Regions from separate parts of the Homo sapiens genome. Here regions 2 and 3 are each linked to region 1. The links are contacts of gene promoters, found by promoter capture Hi-C in human tissues and cell types (Jung and others, 2019). All regions are on one chromosome and are shown on one strand. The core of a region is centred on a gene start or on the middle of the fragment in contact, and the rest is flanking DNA. Distances in the headings are between cores, read along the strand shown.

The links. The method cuts DNA at HindIII sites, captures the fragments that hold promoters and counts their contacts. A contact is called where the count stands out against the background at its distance.
Region 2: a fragment that was not itself captured here is called in contact with the fragment with the promoter of SEZ6 in region 1 in 3 of the 25 tissues and cell types used here (hippocampus, mesendoderm cells and thymus).
Region 3: a contact is called between a fragment that was not itself captured here and the fragment with the promoter of SEZ6 in region 1, in 4 of the 25 tissues and cell types used here (H1 embryonic stem cells, liver, mesendoderm cells and 1 more).

What each region holds. Positions count from the first base shown.
Region 1 is chr17:29,004,438-29,008,190 of GRCh38, reverse strand. SEZ6 (seizure related 6 homolog) reads left to right here and starts at 2,158. Exons shown (of 17, transcript NM_178860.5): 1 at 2,158-2,376. The coding sequence starts at 2,322. The region is part of intron 2 of LOC105371716 (a long non-coding RNA gene); the gene reads right to left. RefSeq lists a silencer at 2,212-2,395 and an enhancer at 3,746-3,753. The HindIII fragment of the contact is 3,335 bases long and covers 1,166-3,753 here.
Region 2 is chr17:29,067,122-29,070,874 of GRCh38, reverse strand. No RefSeq gene overlaps it. Among named protein-coding and RNA genes, the nearest start is that of PIPOX, 26 kb to the right of the region's middle. The HindIII fragment of the contact is 5,950 bases long and covers 1-3,753 here.
Region 3 is chr17:28,963,515-28,967,267 of GRCh38, reverse strand. SEZ6 (seizure related 6 homolog) reads left to right here. Exons shown (of 17, transcript NM_178860.5): 5 at 3,121-3,306. All of the region lies in intron 1 of LOC105371716 (a long non-coding RNA gene), which reads right to left. Among named protein-coding and RNA genes, the nearest start is that of PHF12, 14 kb to the right of the region's middle. The HindIII fragment of the contact is 3,586 bases long and covers 1-3,371 here.

The DNA.
Region 1 (3,753 bases), core at 909-3,408:
ATGGCTTCTCTCCCCCTCCTTTATGTGCATAGTGCCCAGCCCATCAAGGAGCCCTGTTGCTAAGAGAGTCAGACAAGCCTGCCACCAACCTCCAAATCCCCATGAATCATCCTGGCAATACAAGATTCATCCCTAGGTCATGACTCACTCCCCTTGCCCAAGCTGCCTAGCCATGAGGGACCAGGAATACTAGAGGAGCCCAGGAATACTTTCAAGGAGGAAAAGAGGAATCTCATGACATTTGCCAGCATTTTCCTAAACTTCCCCCGGTCACACAACCTTCTACCTCTGTGTCTCTTCCCTTCCTCTGTTGGCAACTCTCTTTCTGCCTCCCCTCTTGCACCTTCTTTCCTGGCTTCCTCTCCTCACCCCTGATTCTTGCATCAGCTCCTCCTTCTTCCTGCCATCCTTCTGCTGCTGCCCTCTTTTTCCTCAGCTTCTCAAAACAACTGTCCAGAAATCCCAGCGTCTTCCTAATTCCACACGCCATCTGCCTGCTGCCTGGGACTCTTTACAGCAGTCATCACAGCTCCCCAGAGCCCACAAGAAGAGGGTCTGGAGAGAATCCAACCAGCAGAGTTGGGAGACTCTGGTCAAGAGGACCAAAACACTCTCTAAGGAACTTGAGCAGAAATTTCACCACCTGCTTCCAGGATGAGGGTCAGGAAGGACACTGGACAATGACTGGAGTCTGGAAGCTTTGGAGAGCAACCAAGTTCATGTAAAAAGAAACTAAACAAAAAACTGCCCTTCTCCCAGGGGCAATAGGGAGTTCAGCCCTCCTATTCCTCTACAGGGAATAATAACATCAGCCATAGGATCCTGTCCCATTGTACCCATTAAAGCTCTTCAAGTGAGCCCATCCATGAGCCCCTGCCTTTAAAGAGCAGCCTCAGGATGGCACAGCTGTGACTGCCCCCTTGCTGTCCTGTGACTCACTGGGGCTCCTCAGCCCAAGCAGGGCCCTGGAAAGTTATTTTTCCATGCCTTTAATAGTACAGGCTACACCCCTGGGCCTCCTTCAAGTCTCTATCTAAAACAGCCGTAGGGCACAGTGGCTCATGCCTGTAATCCCAGCACTTTGGGAGGCCAAGGCGGGAGGATCTCTTGAGGCCAGGATTTCAAGACCAGTTTGGGCAACATAATGAGACCTTATCTCTGCAAAAAATTTAAAAATTAGCCAGGCTTGGGGGTGCATGCCTGTAGTTCTAGCTACTTGAGAGGCTGAAGTGGGAGGATCTCTTGAGCCCAGGAGTTTGGGTGAGCTATTAATATAATTGTGCCACTGCATTTCCAGCCTAAGCAACAGAGACCCTGTCTCTAAAAACAATAATAAAATAAAATAAAATAACAGCTCTAGGAAACCCTCTCTCATGCCTATGCCATTTTCTCCACCAATTCCAGAAACCTGGGCAGAGATGGCATGAAGGGTCTGTATCGACTGTCACTGTGGCTTCTCTGGTCCTGCAGAGGGGCCAAGGCAGAGTCCTGGAGACCCAGGGCTACGTGGGGACCCAGGATACTACCTTCAGCTGCCCACAGCTTGGCCCAGGTTGCCTCCTGCCAAGTGAAGAATGTCTCCCCAGGATGCGAGTGCCACTGGCTTTTAACTATAATATCAGGATAATTAAGCTTTTCTGTGAGCACAGTTTGCTGCTGATGCAGCTGCCTGGAGCCCTGGCATTTATTGAGCGCAAAGTAATAATTTATTATCCTTTGTACGCTCAAAAGCCATCTTCATTATCGTCCCAAGACGGAACTGCCACAAGGGCACGCGGGCCTCACCAGCTGCCTCACTCTCGGATGTCTTCCCAGGTCACCCTTGACGCCCTCAGGTACCAGGATTGGGTGGAGAGGGGTGGGGAAAGTGTTGCTCTTTCTCATGGAGAATCAGAAGGCTACAGTGAGCTATTAATTGAGGTTCCTTAGCAGGCCGTTAACGGGAAAGAGGGTGGCATGCTTGGCTGGGGGTGGGCAGCGCAGAAGGGCAGGGGCCGTGTGCCCACATGAGTAGGGCAGTCGCGGTGGAGCGGGAGCCTGGGCTCCTGCCCCTGGGTCTCTGCGCCTTTGCATGAGACTTTACGGTAAGCCGCTCCTCCCGCGCCCCCGCCCCCAGCCCCGCTCGGCGATCCCCGGCGCCGTCGCCAGGCGCTGGCCGTGGTGCTGATTCTGTCAGGCGCTGGCGGCGGCAGCGGCGGTGACGGCTGCGGCCCCGCTCCCTCTACCCGGCCGGACCCGGCTCTGCCCCCGCGCCCAAGCCCCACCAAGCCCCCCGCCCTCCCGCCGCGGTCCCAGCCCAGGGCGCGGCCGCAACCAGCACCATGCGCCCGGTAGCCCTGCTGCTCCTGCCCTCGCTGCTGGCGCTCCTGGCTCACGGTAAGGGACCCCGGCATCCGGCGGCAGGACGGGGGCGGGAGCGGGGCCCCAGGGGTGGGAAGGGAGACCCGGTGCCCAGCTTCGGGCATCTGGCTGCCCAGTCCAAGCACCGCGCCCCGCCGGCTGCGCTGCCCCCGGCGCCGGCCAAGCCGGGCGGGGCGCGGGCTTCGCGGGCGGGAAGCTGCCGCGGCTCCCGCCATTCGCGCCCGGCCGAGACCTCGTCTTTAATCATCTCCCCAGATCTAATGGGATTTCTCTGATGCAATTCATCACGCCACCCACTCCCCGCACACACGCGCTCACCCGCGCGCTACCTCGCCACACTCTAGGCATCTCAGGGTGCTGGGGCGCGTGCCGGGGGGCGCAAGGCAGTGAGTCGGGACGGTCCAGCTGGCGGCCCGTGGTCCCGCTTCCCCTGCCGCCCGCCAAACTTCGCTCGACTTTGCCGCCGGTTCCAGGGCCTCTAGTGTTCTTACTGAGGGGAGACGGGGCCGGATGGCGGCCGGACCCGGGGTTGGGACCTCGCTCACCTCCCCATGCCCTGGCGCTGCCACGCCAGAGTCGGGACCTAGAGCACAATTCTAGAGAGAAACTCCAAGGGCCTGGACCCCCTATCTGGCTCCTGGCTCTGCCCTCGGCTGCAGCAGCGGAGATCCTGGGATAGAGACTCTGTCCTCCCCAAAGTCCTTTCCTTGTACACACACACACACACACACACACACACACACACACACACCACTGCCCCGAGCTCTGCCTCCCTCCCGGCCTGCCTTCCTGCCCGGCCCTGGTCCACTCCCCACCTGCAAGGCAGATTTGTCTCTGGAGGACCTGTTCCCCACACCCTGAGAATCCCCGCGCCCCCTCTAGGAGTCTGGTCCCCAACTTCGTCGGTCTTGGGTAGAGGGAAGCTTGGCCATGGTGTGAGCGGCAAGGGAGTGTTGGGGAGAGGATAGGGGTTCCGTGCCTCGGGGAAGAGTCTTGTCTGGACCTGCCGTCCTGGCTCAAACAAGCTCTCATGGAAGCTACTGGCACCCACGTCCTTCTCCCGCTGCAGTAGGCTGGTAGGGTCGGCAGAACCGCACTTGGAGTTGAGACCTGCCATCCCTTGCCATATGGTTTGAAGGGCCTGATGTGAAGTGTGAGGGTGGGAGTTTCTAACCTCCCTGCTCGATCTTTCCAGGCCGCTGCCGAGGTCAAGGCAGCGCGGCCAGGGACAGGCTGGGCCCCCGGACGGCAGTTTTCTTCATCCAGGAAGAAAAACTGTGGCCCCGGAGACGCAGAAGCCTTTTTCTGAGCCTCTAGCTCCACTTGCACACAGCCCAGTGTCCTCACCCCGCTACCGGGCTGCCCATGCTGGATCCTCCGGCAGCGCCCAGA
Region 2 (3,753 bases), core at 697-3,196, 63 kb before region 1:
ACTGCTGTTTCTTCCCCAGGGCCCTGGAGCCAGAGCGGCTGCTGTCCTTACCCTCAGCAAAGAGCCCAGGAGGCCCATCCAGGGAAAGGATCGCCTACCTGAATAGTGGGGACTTTTCAAAGTCTTCTAATTCATTCCTGACCTCCAAGCTGGCCGTGTGGGACTGGAGGGAAATGGATTCCCAAAGGCCTCGGAAGTGGGAGGGGGATGAGTCCCTAGCCTGCCTTGGTCACTGAATGAAGGGCCCCATTATCATCCCTGGGAGAAAGTACTGCCTTAAATCTAACCCTAATCCCTTCTGTTCCCCGTTCATTTCCACTGCACCGGTTCTCTGGGAAGCTGGAACACTTCGTCACCTTTTATATAGCAACACATTCCAGACAAGTCTATGATAATTTGTCCTTGCCTGCTTCTACTGGCGGCCACCCTGACTCCTTCCATCTTCTCCTAGGACATATTTTCTAAAACCTCCAGCCTGGTGGGCAGTCCGACACGTTCGGTAATGTACCAAGCTCTGCCGCCTTTCAGGCTGCTGCCTTTTCACCTCCAGAGTGGTGCCCCCGTGCAGTAATGAAAACAAAGCAAAAATAGACAAAACCTGCCAAACTGAGTTCTTCTGCGTCTAGCACTGCGACCTTGGAGAAGGGGCTTAACCTGTCAGGCCTCAGTTTCCCCATCTGTGAAACAAGGTAGTATTGCTGGCAAGAACCTTCTGGCTTCTAAATTCAGAGCTCCTTACCACAGCCAAAAGAATCTCCCACGCCCTCCCCCTTCATCCCCCCTAGTGAGGGACTGACAGTTGATGCCCAGTGGGGCTTCGAGATCCGGGTGCTGTGGAAGAAACGTTGTGCATGGTCTGTCGGGAGTTAGTTTCCATTCAGACACTCGGTTGAACCTCGAGGTCCTCTCATTTCCTCTTCTTCCCTAGCCCGCTCTGCCAGTCCAGGCTTGTGCCCTACCATTCACTGGGAAACCGAGAGCTCGTTAGCATATTCATATATATATTTGCATATCCACTTTTCATTGGCGCACGTGGCCCTCTGGTCCCGCCCCTGCCTGGAGGTTCTTTACGCACTTCCCAGAAGCCACTCCCCTTAAAAGAAATGGGTTTTCAAGCCGCCGATGGGCAGCCCATCTGTGTTGCCCTTTTAATGATTACAGCGGCATTAGGACAGGTCTACTCTCCGAGCAACCCGGAAATAATGTTTCCCGCCCTTTTAAGGGCCCTTGGAACTCTGGCCTGAGCTGAGGCCCAGAGTCAGTGACTGGGACTGACAGGCCCCTTCCTACCCTGTCAGTAGTGAGAGGAGGGTAATAAGAGCAATAATTGGCCGGGTGCGGTGGCTTACGCCTGTAATCCCAGTACTTTTGGGAGGCCGAGGAGGGTGGATCACCTGAGGTCAGGAGTTCAAGACCAGCCTGGCCAACATGGTGAAACCCCATCTCAACTAAAAACAATACAAAAATTAGCCGTGCGTGGTGGCAGGCACCTGTAATCCCAGCTACTTGGGGGGCTGAGGCAGGAGAATCGCTTGAACCCGGGAGGCAGAGGTTGCAGTGAGCCAAGATCGTGTCATTGCACTCTGGCCTAGGGGACAAGAGAGAGACTTCATCTCAAAAAAAAAAAAAAAGGACCAACAACAGTTCCCATTTGTTGAGCACTTACTATGATGACCCCAGCGCTTAAGCACTTTGCCCTACAAAATCTCATTTCACCTCCATCACAACTCTGTGAAGACGTCATCCTGGAAAGAAAACTGAGGCTGAGGGGTGATGTCATCTTTCTAAGCAGAGTCCTCAACTTGCTTCCAGCAGCTGGCCAGGCGTCTCCTAACTATTCTGGCCTTGGCAGAGGATGCAGTGAGAGGCAAGAAAGCAAAGAATCACTACCATGGTCCTCATCTCAAATCGCGTGTGCCTGGCATTCGCCAAGTCCTGGCCTCAGAAAGGAAACGCTTCTTGGCAATTTGGGGGGAAAATATCTACTTCACATTTGCGTCGCGCTTCACAATTTTCAGAGCATCCCCCATATATTATCACATTTTCACTTCACTCCCACTGTGCCAGCAATATGAATAACAGTTCCACATCGCTCAGAATGCATATTTTAAGCTATATTCACTTCAGTCTAATTTCATTACAGTACAACAACAATCCAGACCATTCCCTGCTATTTGATCTGGGAGGAAAGATTTCCAGAGCAGTAGCCATTTTGGAGTTAACAAGGATACTGGATGTGTTTAGAAGGAATTGTACAGAGAAATTGAGTCTTCTGTAGCGTGAGCCCCAGAGATGGGTCATAAACATAAGGGAGATTCCAAAAAGAGTGTGTGCTTTGCGACTGAAGTCAGTCACATAAATCCCCCAGTGGAATACTTATATGTGCAGATAGAATTTGCTGTAGATATCAAAAGTCAGCTATGACAGTTTTAGAAGAAAAGAAAATTCAAAAAGGATATTACGTTTTGACACTATCCAGCCAAATTATATTTGAAGTGGCTTAAGAGTCAAAGAGTTTCCACATTTTAAGAAATTTTTATATGTTTTGTGCCACATCTATGATCTGACTAGATTAGGAAAAGCAGCAAATGGATTTGGGAAAGAGAGGACACTAGGGAATTTGAAAATGGAAATTTAAAAAAAAAAGGAGTTAAGGCTGAGGTGGGTGGATCACCTGGAGTCAGGAGTTCGAGACCAGCCTGGCCAAGATGGTGAAACCCCCTCTCTACTAAAAATACAAAAATTAGGCCGGGCACGGTGGCTCACGCCTGTAATCCCAGCACTTTGGGAGGCTGAGGCGGGTGGATCACGAGGTCAGGAGATCAAGACCATCCTGGCTAACACGATGAAACCCCATCTCTACTAAAAAAATACAAAAAATTAGCCGGGCATGGTGGCGGGTGCCTGTAGTCCCAGCTACTCGGGAGGCTGAGGCAGGAGAATGGCATGAACCCAGGAGGCGGAGCTTGCAGTGAGCAGAGATCCGAGCCACTGCACTCCAGCCTGGGCGACAGAGCAAGACTCCGTCTCAAAAAAAAAAAAAAAAATTAGCTGGGCGTGTTGGCGGGAACATGTAATCCCAGCTACTCGGGAGGCTGAGGCAGGAGAATCCCTTGAAGGTGGAGTTTGCAGTGAGACGAGATCATGCCATTGCACTCCAGCCTGGGCGACGGGTGAGACTCTGTCTCAAAAAGAAAAAAAGGAGTTTAAAAAAATCTCTGCATGGGGAAGATATAGCCAATAGCTTCGGAAACATTAGCACTTTGAAAGACCGGTGAGTGACAGGCAGCCAGGCAAATATAAAATTGTATGTGATGAAAGAGGTCTCATGGCTCATCTTAACCCTGGGGCCTGGCATCAACTGCAGGTTGGCACCCTTGCTTGAGGACTGCTGGGGGACTACTGTCCAAGGAAGAGTGACCCTAGTGAGTGCACTCCCTGGAAGGTTCTGCCCTGGAAGCACAGGTCTCATGGCCTGCCTTTGTGGGTTCCGGAGAACATCTGTGGGAGCTACTGTTTCTGGTGGAAACATACTCAGCCACTGGGCAGGTTTTAATAGTAGAAAGGAGCTTCTGCTCCCAGGAACCGACAAAATAAGCCTAGAGAACCAACTAGAAAGTGAGGCAGTCTTACAGCTCTGTTAATGGGTTCCTAAGGTTACATATAGACATGACAAAAGTAGAAGGGAAAACACAGATCAATAAATAAATATTAGAAGGGACCTCTGAAAACTATAAGTAGTTTTACCTGGGG
Region 3 (3,753 bases), core at 329-2,828, 40 kb after region 1:
TATTGTAGACATCAAGAAAGAAGAGTGTGAAGGCATTTTAGAATCTGGAAAGTACATGTAGATGTGAGGTGCTATTATTAATCAAGATTACAAACAATAACAGCAGGCTGATGTCTTAGGCATTTGTTCAGGAACTGCACATATGTCTTCTCACTTAACCTCCACAACCTTGGATGTAATACTGAAAGTGGGTGGATAAATGAGGCAACTGAGGCACAGAGAATTTAGGTAACTTGCCCACGGTGGCACAGCACGTAGGGAAGAAGCCTGCATTCAAACCCAGGCAGTCTGACCCACAGCCCACCTGCTAAGCACTGCCCTGTACTGCCTGCCAAGCACAACTAGCCACTTACCGACCATTCTCTCCAGAGCCCCATGAGAGACAGAAGAGGAGGAATTCTCCTCCCACTTTCACAGACATAGTAACAGGACAGGTGAAAGTCATAAAACTCAAATTTCTGGACCCTGGTCTGCCCTGAGACAGCCTCTTTTTCTTTTTCTTTTTCTTTTTAATGGGGGGGAAGAAAGAGGGCCCATTTTTCTATTCACACAAAGGCACCCAGGAACAGAGGCCTTGCATGGACCTCTCCTCCCATTTACCTGATACCATCAGTGGGGCTGCCCCCTACCCCAAGACCCAAGATCTTCAGTCTAGACAGTCCTCACTTTTCCTACCACCCCAAGGGTTATCAGGCTCTGTAGCACAAGCCTCTCAGCCTCTCCTTGACCCCTCCAGGCCTTTGCTCTCACCTCTTAGACGCAAGCCAGGATCTTCACTTTTTTTTGAGAAAGAGTCTCACTCTGCCGCCCAGGCTGGAGTGCAGTAGCGCAATCTCCACTCACTGCAACCTCTGCCTCCCGAGTTCAAGCGATTCTCCTGCCTCAGCCTCCCAAGTAACTGGGACTACAGGCGCGTGCCACCATGCCCAGATCATTTTTTTTTTTTTTGTATTTTTAGTAGAGATGGGGTTTTACCATGTTAGCTGGTCTCGAACTCCTGATTTTGTTATCCACCTGCCTCGGCCTCCCAAAGTGCTGGGATTACAGGTGTGAGCCACCGTGCCCAGCTGGATCTTCACTTTTATTTTATTTTATTTTATTTTATTTATTTATTTTATTTTTTGGAACATGGAGTCTCACTCTGTCGCCCAGGCTGGAGTGCAATGGCATGATATCGACTCACTGCAACCTCCATCTCCCCGGTCCAAGCGATTCTCCTGCCTCAGCCTCCCGAGTAGCTGGGATAACAGGCGCCTGCCACCATGCCCAGCTAATATTTTTGTATTTTATTAGTAGAGATGGGGTTTTGCCATGTTGGCCAGGCTGGTCTTGAACTCTTGACCTCAGGCCATCCGTCCACCTCAGCCTCCCAAAGTGCTGGGATTACAGGCGTGAGCCACTGCACCGGGTTGATCCTTTTAGCTACCACCCCAGCTTGACCCCAGGATCGGGATATGCCAGATTGTTTTGTAGGATTTGCTGCCACCATTTGGTCAAATTTGGTATGACAATTCCAAAGCTACCAGCTTTCCCAGGGCAACTTGTTCTTTCCCCAACTTCCATGAAGGCAGTGCACTGCCTCCCTACCCTCGTCCCCATCTTTTTCTTGTTTGTTTGATGTTGTTTTTCGAAACAGGGACTCACTCTGTCACCTAGGCTGGAGCGCAGTGGTGCAATCATAGTTCACTGCAGCCTTAAACTCCTAGGCTCAAGCGATCCCACTTCAGCCTCCTGAGTAGCTAAGACTACAGGTACACATCACCATGCCTGGGTATTTTTTAAAAATTTTTTACAGAGATGGGGACCTCACTATGTTGCCCAGGCTGCTCTTGAACTCCTGGCCTCAAGCAATCCTCCCACCTTGCCCCAGCCTACCACCATTCTGGATTTTGTTTGTTTGTAAGTTTGTTTTTTTGAGATGAAGTCTCGCTCTCGTCCCCTAGGCTGGAGCGCAATGGCACGATCTCGGCTCACTGCAACCTCCACCTGCCGGGTTCAAGCGATTCTCCTGCCTCAGCCTCCCGAGTAGCTGGGATTACAGGCGCCTGCCATCACGTCCGGCTGATTTTTGTATTTTTAGTAGAGATGGGGTTTCTCCATGTTGGCCAGGCTGGTCTCGACCTCCTGACCTCAGGTGATCCGCCCACTTCGGCCTCCCAAAGTGCTGGGATTACAGGCATGAGCCACCACTCCCGGCTGTTTGTTTGTTTTGAGATGGAGTTTTGCTCTCGTTGCCCAAGCAGGAATGCAATGGAGTGATCTCAGCTCACCACAACCTCCACCTCCCGGGTTCAAGCGATTCTCCTGCCTCAGCCTCCCCCGTAGCTGGGATTACAGGCATGCGCCACCATGCCCGGCTAATTTTGTATTTTTAGTAGAGACGGGGTTTATCCATGTTGGTCAGGCTTGTCTCGAACTCCCGACCTCAGGTGATCCGCCCACCTCGGCCTCCCAAAGTGCTGGGATTACAGGCATGAGACACCGGCCCGGCCACCATTCTGGTTTTAAAAGAAGTCCATGGCCATTGGCATCAAGCTTTTTAGCATTTCTCAGTGAATACTGGGAAAGCCTTTACTGTCTGATTTCACTCTTTGCTGCTGCAATTCATATTTATTCCCTAAAGGAAAAACAGTATCAACACTTTACATCTGTATAGGTTTTTCACTATTTCAAGTGCTTTCATGTCTACGAGTCATTCAATAAGCATTTCCTGAAGATATAATATCAGCTGGGTACCAGAGATACCAAGCTAGATAAAATACTCTATCATTTCTTCTCACAGTAACCCTGTAGGTAGGCTAGGATTTTAAACCTCATTTAACAAATGAGGAAACACACACACAAAGATTAAATAACCTGCCTAAAGTGTCATAAAGCTTGAGCCAGAACCTAACCCTTCTAATTTCCAGCTCTGTCTGCTCCACTAACCAGCCCAGGCTGCTGGAAATATCACTGGTAACCTTCTAGGGAGGAGATTGGAGTTGTTTTGGAACTCCTAGTGCTTCCTCTGGCCCCAAATGACACCTCCAGGCAGACTGAGGCAGACCTCCCCCAACCAATGGCCCAGCTCCCGCCCCCACCCTGCACACATACACAGTGTCACCCGTTCTCTGTTTGCAGCCTATCTCCTGAGCTGCCACTTTCCCCGTCGTCCAGCTTATGGAGATGTGACTGTCACCAGCCTCCACCCAGGGGGTAGTGCCCGCTTCCATTGTGCCACTGGCTACCAGCTGAAGGGCGCCAGGCATCTCACCTGTCTCAATGCCACCCAGCCCTTCTGGGATTCAAAGGAGCCCGTCTGCATCGGTGAGTGCCCAGGGGAAAGGGCTCAGTGCTGAGCAGAGAAGTGAGGTGGGGGCTCATCCCTGCTCTCTGTTGCTCTCTGCCACTTTCATTTGCTCTTCATAAGGAAGCCAGAAAATGGCCATGCACCTCAGTGGCATTCATCCAACCTGCACTTATTGAGCATCTACCAGATGAAGGCACCACAGGTACAAACAGCTGAATTAAACAGGGACTCTGCCCTCAAAGAACCCACATTTCCAGGAAAGGGAGAAAGGAGAAAGCACAGAGGTCACCAATTTCCAGGGGAAGAAGTAAAAAGCACCAATGAAAAGACATAAAGTGACCTGGGAGGCAAGGGCGCAATCATTCTTAGCTGGACATTTAGGAGGCTTCCTAGGGGAGGAGGCACTGCAGGTTTGACATTTAAATGGAGAGAACAACGTGGGCAGGGACATAGAGGCAGGCAGG